Regions from separate parts of the Homo sapiens genome. Here region 1 is linked to region 2. The links are contacts of gene promoters, found by promoter capture Hi-C in blood cells and fetal thymus (Javierre and others, 2016). All regions are on one chromosome and are shown on one strand. The core of a region is centred on a gene start or on the middle of the fragment in contact, and the rest is flanking DNA. Distances in the headings are between cores, read along the strand shown.

What was found. The method cuts DNA at HindIII sites, captures the fragments that hold promoters and counts their contacts. A CHiCAGO score of 5 or more calls a contact.
Region 1: the fragment with the promoter of OR5K4 here is called in contact with a fragment that was not itself captured in region 2 in 4 of 17 cell types (endothelial precursors, naive CD8 T cells, naive CD4 T cells and 1 more); the score reaches 7.4 in endothelial precursors.

Annotation. Positions count from the first base shown.
Region 1 is chr3:98,349,202-98,355,470 of GRCh38, reverse strand. It overlaps OR5K4 (olfactory receptor family 5 subfamily K member 4), which reads right to left and starts at 1,617. Exons shown (of 1, transcript NM_001005517.1): 1 at 652-1,617. The coding sequence starts at 1,617. The coding sequence ends at 652. The HindIII fragment of the contact is 1,273 bases long and covers 594-1,866 here.
Region 2 is chr3:98,052,082-98,057,568 of GRCh38, reverse strand. It overlaps the pseudogene OR5BM1P. Among named protein-coding and RNA genes, the nearest start is that of GABRR3, 20 kb to the right of the region's middle. The HindIII fragment of the contact is 2,440 bases long and covers 1,601-4,040 here.

The DNA of each region.
Region 1 (6,269 bases), core at 368-2,867, 300 kb before region 2:
TGTTATAAGTCACAATTAATTATTCTGCAAAATAGAATATTTTGTAGGTGAGCCTCTTTGCATGTGTGTATGTGTGTGTCTGTGTCTGTATATGTCTGTGTATGTGTGTGTGTGTTCCTTTTCATTTTTTTTCATTCTTGCAATCTTATCTAAATAAAACTTCATTACCTTAAATATAAATTACTGCAATTAGTTTGCTTCTAGTCTTTTCCACTCTAAAGTAATCCACATGTGTCTCTCAGGTCAGTTTTCTGAAAGAAAACTATCATTTCACTTTTCTGCCAGGAAATTTTAAATGTTTCAAACACGCTACATAGGATTGGATATAATGTCTTCCATTAACTAGGAAACATTAATCAAAGAAGACTCTTCTACACATTTAAACATTTAACTTTCATGCTATGTTGATTAATTGAGGTTTAGGATAATACTCTCTGACAATTCCATGAGAGTCATGAAAGGTAGTAATAACAGTTACCAGTGAGTTTCCCCGATTCATTCTGGTTGTGGGATTTGGATAAAGATTTGTGAAACAATTTTGAAATTCCATTGATATATTTTTTAAACAAACATAGCCTAATGATTTATAAGCTTACATTTTGTGTAAAATCACATATTAATTTTTCTATGTTCCCTCTTTATGAAAGCATTTTAATAAATTAAAAATAAATTTGCTATAGAGCAAGTTTGTTTAAGAATGTTATAATTCCTCATAATTTTTTTAAGAACATTTATGACCTCCTTATTTCTCAGACTATAAATAAAAGGGTTTAGTAATGGGATTACTATTGCATAAAATATTGCCACTGGTGTATCTTTATCTCCTTCTTCAGATGGTCCAATATACATGAGAAGACAAATGTAAAATATTGAGACAGAGAGAAAGTGGGATGCACAGGTAGAAAATGCTTTACCTCTTCCCTCCTTGGATTTCATTTTGAAAACAGTCAAAAGGATGCAGAGATAAGAGATCAAGACAGTAGCAATGGTAAAGATTTGAATTGGTATTGAAAAGATATATATCATTAGTTCATTAATAGAAGGATCTGTACAGGAGAGTCTATACAGTGGAAGAATATCACAGAAAAAGTGGTGAATTTTATTAGACCTGCAGAAAGTTAACCTTAATAAAAGCCCTACATGAATCATGGAATGCAGGTTTCCAGCTTTGAAGGCCCCTGTGGTCATCCGAATGCAGAGCGTCTTGGACATCATGGTGTGGTACTGCAGTGGGTGGCATATGGCCACATAGCGGTCATAGGCCATTGTCGCCAGAAGAAAGCAGTCTGTGGTTTCAGCAAGACAGAGAAAATAAAATTGTGCCATACATTCATACAGGGAAATAATTCTATCCTCAGAAAAGAAATTCTCTAACATCTTGGGGGTAACAGCACAGGAACAGCAGGAATCCATCAGAGCCAGGTTGCCCAGAAAGATGTACATTGGTGTGAGAAGACGACGCTCTACATAAATTAATGCCACCAGACCAAGATTCCCCACCATGGTGACCAGATAGATGGCAGAGAACACCACAAACAGAAGCGTCTTCAGCTCTGGATAATTTGTAAATCCTATGAGGATGAATTCAGCTGCTAAGGAGTGATTTTCCCTAGCCATTCCTGGCTTCTCTTCTGAGACATAAATTGTAAAGAAATGTAAGATTCCAAAGCAGAATGTTTCTAATTCTCACCCTCTAATTTCCCTGTATACAAAAGGGAAGAAAGTCTTCTTCAAATTATCCTGTGCCATCTCCTAAACACTAGCACACTCACTGTGGGTCAAATCAAGTGAGAAAAAATGTATCATGGATTGTGTACCCAGGGCTTGTCTGAAAATATCTGTGTGAATTCCTAGGGCAGGAAAGCTTTATCTGCATGAATTATCCTATGCCGATGTAAAATCTGTGGTCAGTACATATAATTTTCCATTTCCAAAATTAAGACATTTTCTTATGGTATCTTTTCCTCCAGGAAAAAGTAAACAAGTTTTAAATCGTATCCTATTGGATCAATGTGACGCTTAAAATGAATTACTCTTAAGGCATTTTAAATGTCTACATTTTAAAAACTGCACAGAAACACAGTGATTTGAAGAATGCTTTTGCTAGCTTAGTAACCCTTTCCAGATAAGGTCACCAATTGCATATTTTATGAGATATCTACTCATCCTTTTAGAGAGGATAAGAATATGAAACATCTATGAGTGTTCTTAATCATTGTATTGGATATCATTTTTATGTTCATTTCAACATATTCTAGATACTATTCCAATCTTGGTATGACAAATTTCCCAAGGAGTTATTACTCTTAATTGCTCACTTATCCTAATACTTTCTGTCTCTAGTTTTAAGAGTTTTACATGCATGTCCAACATTGTAAGATTTGGTGGCAAAATCTCCACTCATAATGTGAATATTCTTCATGGTAAATATCTATTTTGTATTCACTCAAACATCTCTCATAGAAAGTAATGTCTTCATTTTCAGTGAGTTCTATGGAGGTTCTCCATTTATTTACTTGAGTTTTAAATTTATTTAAATTTACAAACTCATTATCTACTCTTTACTGGCTATATATTTATTTGAGTTTAATGATCAACTAAATTTATTATATAGTTCTTATAGTTTGGCAACTGTACATTAAAATATTTCAGGTACAGAAACAATTTGAGTTTTAAAGAATAATAAAATTAACTTTCTTTTCTTTTAGAAGTTTCTAAAAGTCTTTAGCCTTAGCATACTCCAAACAGACAATTTTGGAGAAGAGCCTACGATAGTTAATTCAAAGCACATTTTTTTTTTTTTTGAGACAGAGTTTCAAGCACTTCTCCTGCCTCAGCCTCCCGAGTAGCTGGGATTACAGGCATGAGCCACCATGCCTGGCTAATTTTGTATTTTTAGTAGAGACGGGGTTTCACCATGTTGGTCAGGCTGGTCTCGAACTCCTGACCTCAGGCGATCCGCCCGCCTCGGCCTCCCAAAATGCTGGGATTACAGGCATGAGTCACCTCGCCCGGCCAGTGAATTACTTTGAAAACATTTTGGTTAGGTTTTCTCTGTTTCTTACTTTTGTTTTTCTATTGACTCACATAATATGATGAGGTTTTCTGGAGTTTTATCACTAGAGGCTTGTAATCAAATGAATACAATAAAATGTCCTTTATATTTTAGGTCTATACCTCTTTTAAAAAATCTTTCAGAATTATATTTTTAAAAAAACTTTGTAAAAGTATAAAATGCTGCTCTTTATCATTATTTTAGTAACATCTAATGGAAAATCAACTGAAAATATTTATCAGGTGGACTGTGGAAAAATGGATTTTATTATCAATAATTATTTTATATAGATCATATTTCAGAATATAATGAGTAAAATCTCATTTTCTCTTCACCAATGTAAAATATAATTTTTGAACTTAATCAAAAATTAATTTGCCTATAGATCGCAGAATTACTGTACAAGGACATCATCAGCCTTATCTGTGTATTTGCTGATAAAATTATGGTACTTTTGAACAAAGAATAGGTCAGACTTATCCACTTACTATGTCTCCTTATGGCTTTCTATAATGGCTTCACTTTAGAGACAAAGAGAATTATTAAGTGGCTAAAATTTAAAAACAATAAAAATACTGAAGTATATTAGAAAATTTATATTCTGCATTTTGATACTATAATATAAATAAATTAGTAAATAAAATTAAGTCCTCATATTTTGAGTTCACTGAGAAACATTTTATAGTAGCTGACTGGTCTCCTGATGTTTTTTCTTTGTAGGGAAATTAAGAATAAAAACATTGGTTTTTAAATCATTAGGGAATAAATTATAAAAATCTAGGACACTCCCTACCAATAGGTTAGTGACAATAGTTATGCAAGTCTCAGGCAAAGTTAAAGTTTTCTATTCTAAAGGGACTTCCTCGGCATTGGCATCAGAGTGTTTCTGCAGAGACTCTAATCTGATGAGCATGGTTCCCCCAGCACCAGTAAATCAAACAGCATATAAAGATGGATGCATTTTGAGATTCGGAAGTTAAATCAAAATTGCTATCACTAAAAACAGCTTAAGGTTCATCTTGATTTTTCACATACTTGGAAACTCTCTCTTTCTCTTACACACAGACACACACACACACACACACACACACACACACACACACCCCTTGATTACCTGAAAACTATGATGGAGAGAAAAAGATTTACATTGATCAGTTGAGGTGGAAGTTAAACAGAGATTTGAAGAGAGATTTGTATTTGTGGACAAGAGGCAAAAATGTGGCAGGATCACCCAGGGTTGTATTCCTTTCTTTTGCTCCCCAAATTAATCTGGTCAAATCTTGTACATTCATCCTCTGAAGTAAGTCTGACATTATGTTCTTCAGTTTCACTTATTTGTCATAAGGTAACTTTAAAAAACTTAATTGAGGTATGATTTATGTGCAAAAAGCTATACACATATAATGTATACAACTTGATAAATTGGGACATAAGTATACACCCACAAAACTATTACCATAATCAATGCCATCATCATAAGATAACTTACTTGTTAATTGGTCTCCTATCCCCATCTTTTCTCTAGTGTGTAGATATGCTCTTATGCATTAGAAATATTTTTGGCTTCTCATTAGTCTTCAAACCAAGTTTTGTCCTTTATCTTGGTACTCCAAGGGCTCCATACAGAGGGCTTATATCACTTAAGGCTATTTTCTACCATTCACCTTTAAGAATCCATCTCCAGAGACACGCCTATAACTTATCTATTCCTTGATGTGTTAGAGTTTAACCTTGACCTCAGAATATTTACTCAGAATCTACTCTTCACATGAAATGCCCTCTTTGATTTATTCTTCTATCCAAATCTTACTCAATTTTTATGAGATCTGATTCTCATTATGAAGACATCCTCAACTTTCTGATCTGCAAGATAATGACTGTTTGTGTGATGCAAAGAGCTCTTAATTGTACTTCACTCCTGTGTTCATTCAGCTGTTCTTCATGTGCAAGTTTTGTTTATTCTTAGATTGATTTTCTTTTTGGTTTTCCACACTGCAAATCCCTCATAGTTCCAGAAAATGTAGGCCGTCGGTGAATGCTTATTGAATTGCTTGCAGAAATTTCAATTAAATTAACTTCAACATTATAGAGTGACTACAATAGAGAAGTCATGGAGTAAGACATTGCGCAAGGAGGGGTATGTGGTAGGAGTGAGTTAGGGCAGGAACCTGAATAGATAAATAAGAAATAATCCTGCCCTTAGAGAGCTCCCAATCTAGAGGATAAAATCACTTATACAATGATATAATATAGAAACTCAGGCTGAGTTAAGTATTACAAACTGAACTATAAGCAAGGTATATGAGAACACAAAGAAGGACTTAGAGAACTAAGAGAAGACATTATACAAAATGACATTTCTCATGATTCTTGAAGGATAAATTAAATTTCAATAGGCAAGAAGAATGTGTAGCAAAGAATTACAGGTTGAAGGAGCGGCATGATTAGAAGTAAAAGCATGGAAACTTGAAAGCACAAAGCATATTCAGTGAATGGAGAGTGAACCAGAGTAGCCAGAGTCTGGGCTCATGACAGGAAGGAGTTGGAGGTTCTCATCGCCACTCTCTCACTAAGATCACTACTCAACTCCTAATTACCACACCTAAAGCATTTTTTTAAATTATTATCTTAACTAATTAATTTTATGATTTGGCACCATTGACCACACTCTGAAGCATATTTGCTTCTCAGGCTTCTGTGATTTAATGCTTGTTTATTGCTACATCTCGGGCTGTTCTTTCTCCATGTTTTCTCTTAGATCCTCTTTTCTTCCTTTCCTCACACGCACAAATTCCTTAAAATAAAAGTACAACCTTGGGTACTTTTACAAAATTATGGCACTTTGTTTTAAATACTAGACACTAATTTAGAAAAGGCTTGCCTGATATTTAGCCAGTAAATCACCATACTCTCTGATGTCAATCAGTTGTTTTGTAAGAAAATTAAAAAGTGTAAGCAAATTAAAAATTTTTAAATTTGAAAAACAAGTTCAAATTTCTCTTAAAATATGTGGAATATTTTTATGAAGGTGGAAACATTGTGTTTCCAAATTTTTTAAAAAATAAGCAAACATGAGAGTTTTTAGTATGTTATCAGATAATTTTTGCCCAGAGTATTATATGAGGATATAGAAAAACATACTAAACATGTTTCAAGATTTTATCTGTGTTGCACAATTTCATATTGATAGTAGTTACAGTTCACTTAGTTAAAT
Region 2 (5,487 bases), core at 1,571-4,070:
TGTGCGATGAAGAAACCAGGCTTAGCCTAGCAGACATAGCCATATTTACAGTATAGAACTCTAATCTCTAAGACTTCCAGTTCATTTCTTAATATACTAAAAATCTGTGTAAAATAATGTAATATTCCTTCAAGACAAATTCCTGTTTTTGAAGTCAGAAGAGGAATTCCTTTTTTTCTCTTTGCATTACTTCTACAACAATTTAAAATATATTCCCAGACAGATAGAACCCTTATGCAAACTATGGAACCAGCTCTATACTCAGAGAGGCAACTGATAAAAGAAAATTAATACTTTTCATTCTCTTCCTCCCCATTACTTTCTCTCCTTAGTAAACATGAGTCCATTCAAAAGACTCTTACTCTTTTTTAGGGTAAGAGTCTTTTGAATGGACTCAAGTTTGCTAAGTTTGCTTACCTTGCTTCTAGAAAGACCTGAGTTGAATTTTCTACTATGTTCTGTTGTAGTTTGGCTAAGTAAAATTGGTTACTGGATGAAAGTCTTTTCTCCTACTAGGAAGCTCCCTCCATCCACAGTATAATGCATCCCTGTCCCAGGAATTCCAGCTACATGGTCAGCAGGGCCTCCCTTGTGTAGGTATGAGCATAGGGTGGACCCACTGGAGGCTGAGCAGTTATCTTTGTAATGGTGTCAGAAAGTGTAGGCTGTCTCCTCAATCTTTTCTTCTCTTTCTCCTCTCTCATATGCTCATGTTCACTTTCAAGTTGTAGTTCCATCTCTGCCTCAGTTGCCTAGCTTGTGTGGAAATAGGTGGATGAGCTGATTCTTGCACGATTCATGTGATGTCCCTTCCCAATCTGCCAGGATCTCTCATGTTGGCCTTGGCTCCTGTGAGACAAGCTGCAGGTTCTATTTCTGACTCAGCTAGGGACTCTGAATATGTCCTCCCACACCTAGTCTCTACAGCATGTCCCAGGCCATCACTTATGAACTGAGTTATCACTATTGGACTTGGGCTTTTCTCAGTGAAAACAACTCTCCAAAAGTCCAGAGTTTAAGAAGAGGGGTTAGTCGATTGTCCCGTATCCTATTACTTCCGATCCATTCTCTCATGGGTCATGACCTCAGCCTGGAGATGACCGGAGTCTGTGATTCTAATCAATGATTTTGTTAAGCAGTTCATGGAATAGATATAGCAAGAGCTGTCATGCTCTAAATGACAGAAAATTAACTTGACTAATTTTAATTTTTTCATGTAAACCTCTGAGATGAATATGAGAATATGGAGCAGGGAAAGGCCTGTGATCTTTTGGGAGTAAAGTGAAGGTCTCTGTCCTACTAATACTGTCTGACTCTTCTGGGCTTGGCATGGTGCCAGCTTTTACAGCCAAAGTCAGTGCCTATTGGAACTATTGATCTGGTCAACTAGTATGGGTAGGGTCCCAGCTGCCCTCCAAGGCTGTTCTGACTCTCTTGGGTCTCATTGATGTGGTCACCCCTCAGGGTCTCTCTTATGTCCTCCACCTACATGTCCCAACCCACCTGTTGCATGAGTGAGTCTCTTGGCTTCTTTCTGTCGCTGCAGGAATTTGCAGGTCCTGGCCATGCAAGATGGTGATGGGGACCAGCCTCTAAAGCTTAACCTTCAAGGGTCTGCTGCCTACGTACTTTGCAAACCAAGTTTACTTTGAGGTAGCCAGGTAAGGAAGGAGCAGAGCCAGAAATGATTTCTAGTGCCATAAATTGGAATCTGGACAAAACACACTCTTTTCCAAGTCTACCTTTGATGTACGCAATAATGCTCCTGCCACATATGTACACATCTTAATTCCCAGAACCTGTGAATATGTTAGGTTACCTGGCAAAGGGGAATTCATGCTTCAGAGGTAATTAAGGTTGTATGAAAGAAACTGAGGTAACTAAGGTGCAGGCATTCTAAAGTGGAGCTAGGAGATTGTGAGAGAATTGCACTAACACCTCTAAAAGTCAAACCACAGATTGTGCCAACGGACTTGGATGAACAATGGAAGTTAGTGTCTGCCAGTCTTCAACATTTCTCACCTGGGAGTGCCCTAATTAACTAACCAATTAGTACAGCTCTGTGATTTGGGATTTCTGCTCAGCCAATGAACTGCCTCTTTAAGGGACATGATTCAGGACTCAGACATAAGTAATTTAAAAGTCTGCTCTTCAGGCTATCTTGTTAAAAGGTCAAGTACTAGATTTTTCCCACCTCAGAAACTATGAAAAAAAATGTTAAAATAAGAAATTAATTTCCATTGTTTAATATTTGCAAAACTATTGTCCCCTTTGACTATATAGCTGCCTGTGGCTGTTTTCCTCTCGGGGAGTGTGAGGATGTCAGTCCTGCTCTATGTGAATCTAGCTGAGGAAAGCATGTAGAATGTAGTACTCTGGTCTCTAGGTCTCAACCCAAATCAGTGGGGATTTTTCTTGAAATAATATAGGTGTAATGATGAGAGAGAAAGGTTATACATTGACATACGGCCACTATGTAGGCAAGACTAATCAGCCTGTATGGCATATTACATATAAAATTAGAACACTTTGTCGCTGGGGTTGACTATAGAGAGATGGAGACAGGAACTCCTGCAGAGATTCTGCAGCCACAGGGTACACCTGCTTAAAATGGAGTCCCCACAGCAGAAGGCACAGCTCAGATGCAATGAGAGGAACCGGGTTCTGAAAAAACTGAACCCTAACAAACTATTCCTAAAGCCACTGTGCCTCATTTGGGGCTTTGGGTTATATCATTCAACAAACTGCCATTTCTTCACTTTTTTTTAAAGCCAGGGTAAAAGCAATGTATTATGCATATGGAAAAATCTTTCTTGAGTATTTTCTCAAGAGAATACTCTCTTGAGTATTCTCAAGAGTCTAAGTAATAAAAGTAAGGAGGTCAAAGTTTGCCTACTCATGAAAGGGCCAGATAGAATATATACACAATGTAGGTAAGAAAAAAAATTAGCTTAATATATTTAACTGACAGTTGATCAAGCACACCTGCTGGTTCAGGCAGGTGTCAATGCCAGAAAACACTATTCAGGTAGGATATGTGTGTCAGGAATGCAGTGCTCAGTAGGACTACTCAATAAATTAAAAAGTAAAAGTTTTAGAAGAACTCAGAAATTTTCTAACTATATTGCAGAAATTTGAATTACTTTTAGTATTTTTGTTGTTACATTTACATATCTTTCAATGGAGGCAATGAAACATGTTACTTTTCAAAATTGCTTTTAAACCAAATGGAAATCTTAGTTTTAAATGTTTTAAGAGGATATGTGTTGTCATATTTGGCCTAACAGTATTATTTTTATTAACATTCTGATATATTATTATAAATATCTGCTAAAGAGAAAGTTTGAAAAATGCCTTGTTCAAGAATTATTTAGAAGTGCATGAATACTTTGAACACTTTTTAAATTATATAGGTGGGGTCTTCCTTTAAATAACTGCAAGTAAGTTCTAAAACATGTATGTCTGTATTTCATGTAGTTCATTCATGTTACAAAAACTTGTTACTAAGTCTTTGTAAAATGAATGAACTCTTGTGTTTCATTCATGTTACAAAAACAGTAATGTGGCATTATAATTTCAGTTTGAACTTCATCCTTGAGTATGTACTTAAAACAACAACAAAAATGTGGTGTTTGTCCTTAAATGCTCATTAACTATTTTAATGATCAGAATAACTTATAACTAAGACAAGAATATTTAGTCTAAATTTTTTTATTCATTCACTTAACATATTGTGTCCCTACTATGTGTAAAACACAGAAACAATTATTACGATTTGTTTTAACAGAAAGGAAATGGAAAGAATTATGAAAGTGTTCTCCAAAAATATTTCTTTATCATTGTTCTAAGTGTACCTAAAACTTCTTTGTTTTTCATACTGTAAATAAAGGAGTCTGCAGAGGAATTATAATCATGTAGAACGGAAAATACATTTCATTCCACTGTTAATCTGGGCCAGACCTGGGGCACCCATACATGAAGAAGACACTGCTATAGAACAAAGAGACAGAGAGCAGGTGGGCACTGCACATGAGGAAGCTTTTGCTTCTGCCCTTCTCAGAATTCTTTTTCAGTAAGGCAAAGAGGACTTGGGTATAAGAAACTATGATGATCATAAAAGCAAAAGCTTGTATAAAAGCAGTGAAAACCACAAAATCACTAATGAGTTAATAAATGGATCAATGTAAGAAATTGTATATTGTACACTGAAAAAATGGTAAGATTTTTTTAAAATACATATTATTTCTTGAGGGTTATAGAGGAGATTCTAGACAAGAACTAACTAGTCCCATAGCCTGCCACTCATAAGTACCTTAAAATTGAATGTATTAACAACGAAGTGTTTTAAGAGCAAAAGGTACACGGTATATTTTATGCCAAAATCTTAGAAAATGAGACTTTGTTTTGGGTTCAAAAGTGTATTTTCTCATTCTTTCAGGAACTTTTTTATCTTTCTAGAACAAAAAATGATCTGATCCTCTTGGTATTACAAACGGGACTATCACAGTCAAGGTGGAATAAAACATTACAAAAACATCATAGTAGAAAGAATGGCCAGTGTTTTGAATATCTGGATTCAATTTAAGTGATAAGTTAAATAGTAAATTATAAATTTTATTTAAATAACAAATTAAATGGGGAGAAAGGATTAACCAAATTAATAGGCAATGACTAACATAAACATAGGTAAGGCAATGCAGAAAAAGCCTCAAGCTAAAAGTGTATCCATGAGTTTTACAAGCCTGGAAAGTAAATGGAAAGGAAACTAAACGAGATCCTGTGGAAACACAGGGTGAAAAAATATGTCTGTATCATCAATACATGTCTTTAATGACAAACTTTGCATAATTCCGGACATAAAATATGTTTTACATATTCAAATCCCTGCCTTGTTGATCTAAAGCAGGAACTACCTACTTATAAAACAGTAGGCCTAAGTATACAACCATTCAAGGGAACATTTATAAGTATTAGATTTACAACTCTTAAGGTTTAATGACAAGGCCAGCCAGTAGGTGTTACAACGTGACATATTTTTATTTCTATTAACTAGTCACCAATTCTGTATAACTGTAGCTAAAGTCTTCACTTCCCAAGTCTGTGCAGGCCTGAAACTCGTTTTCTCAAAGCTTCTGCTTTGTTAACTCAAAATTAAGGCACAATAATGGAAAATTTAAGGAAAAGTTTTAGAGTTAGTGAAAAACAACAGTAAAAATACATAGAACGATTGGGATTTTTAATTTTTAATTTTTTTTATTTCCAAAGGTTTTGGGGAACAGTTGGTGTTTGGTTATATGAATAAGTTCTTTAGTGGTGATTTCTGAGATTTTGGTGCACCCATCACACAAGCAGTGTAGCCTGTAACCTGTACCCGAGGTGTAGTCTTTTATCCCTCGCCACCACCAACACTTTCCACCGAGTCCCCAAAGTCCAATGTATCGTTCTTATGCCTTTGTGTCCTCATAGCTTAGCTCCCTCATATAAGTG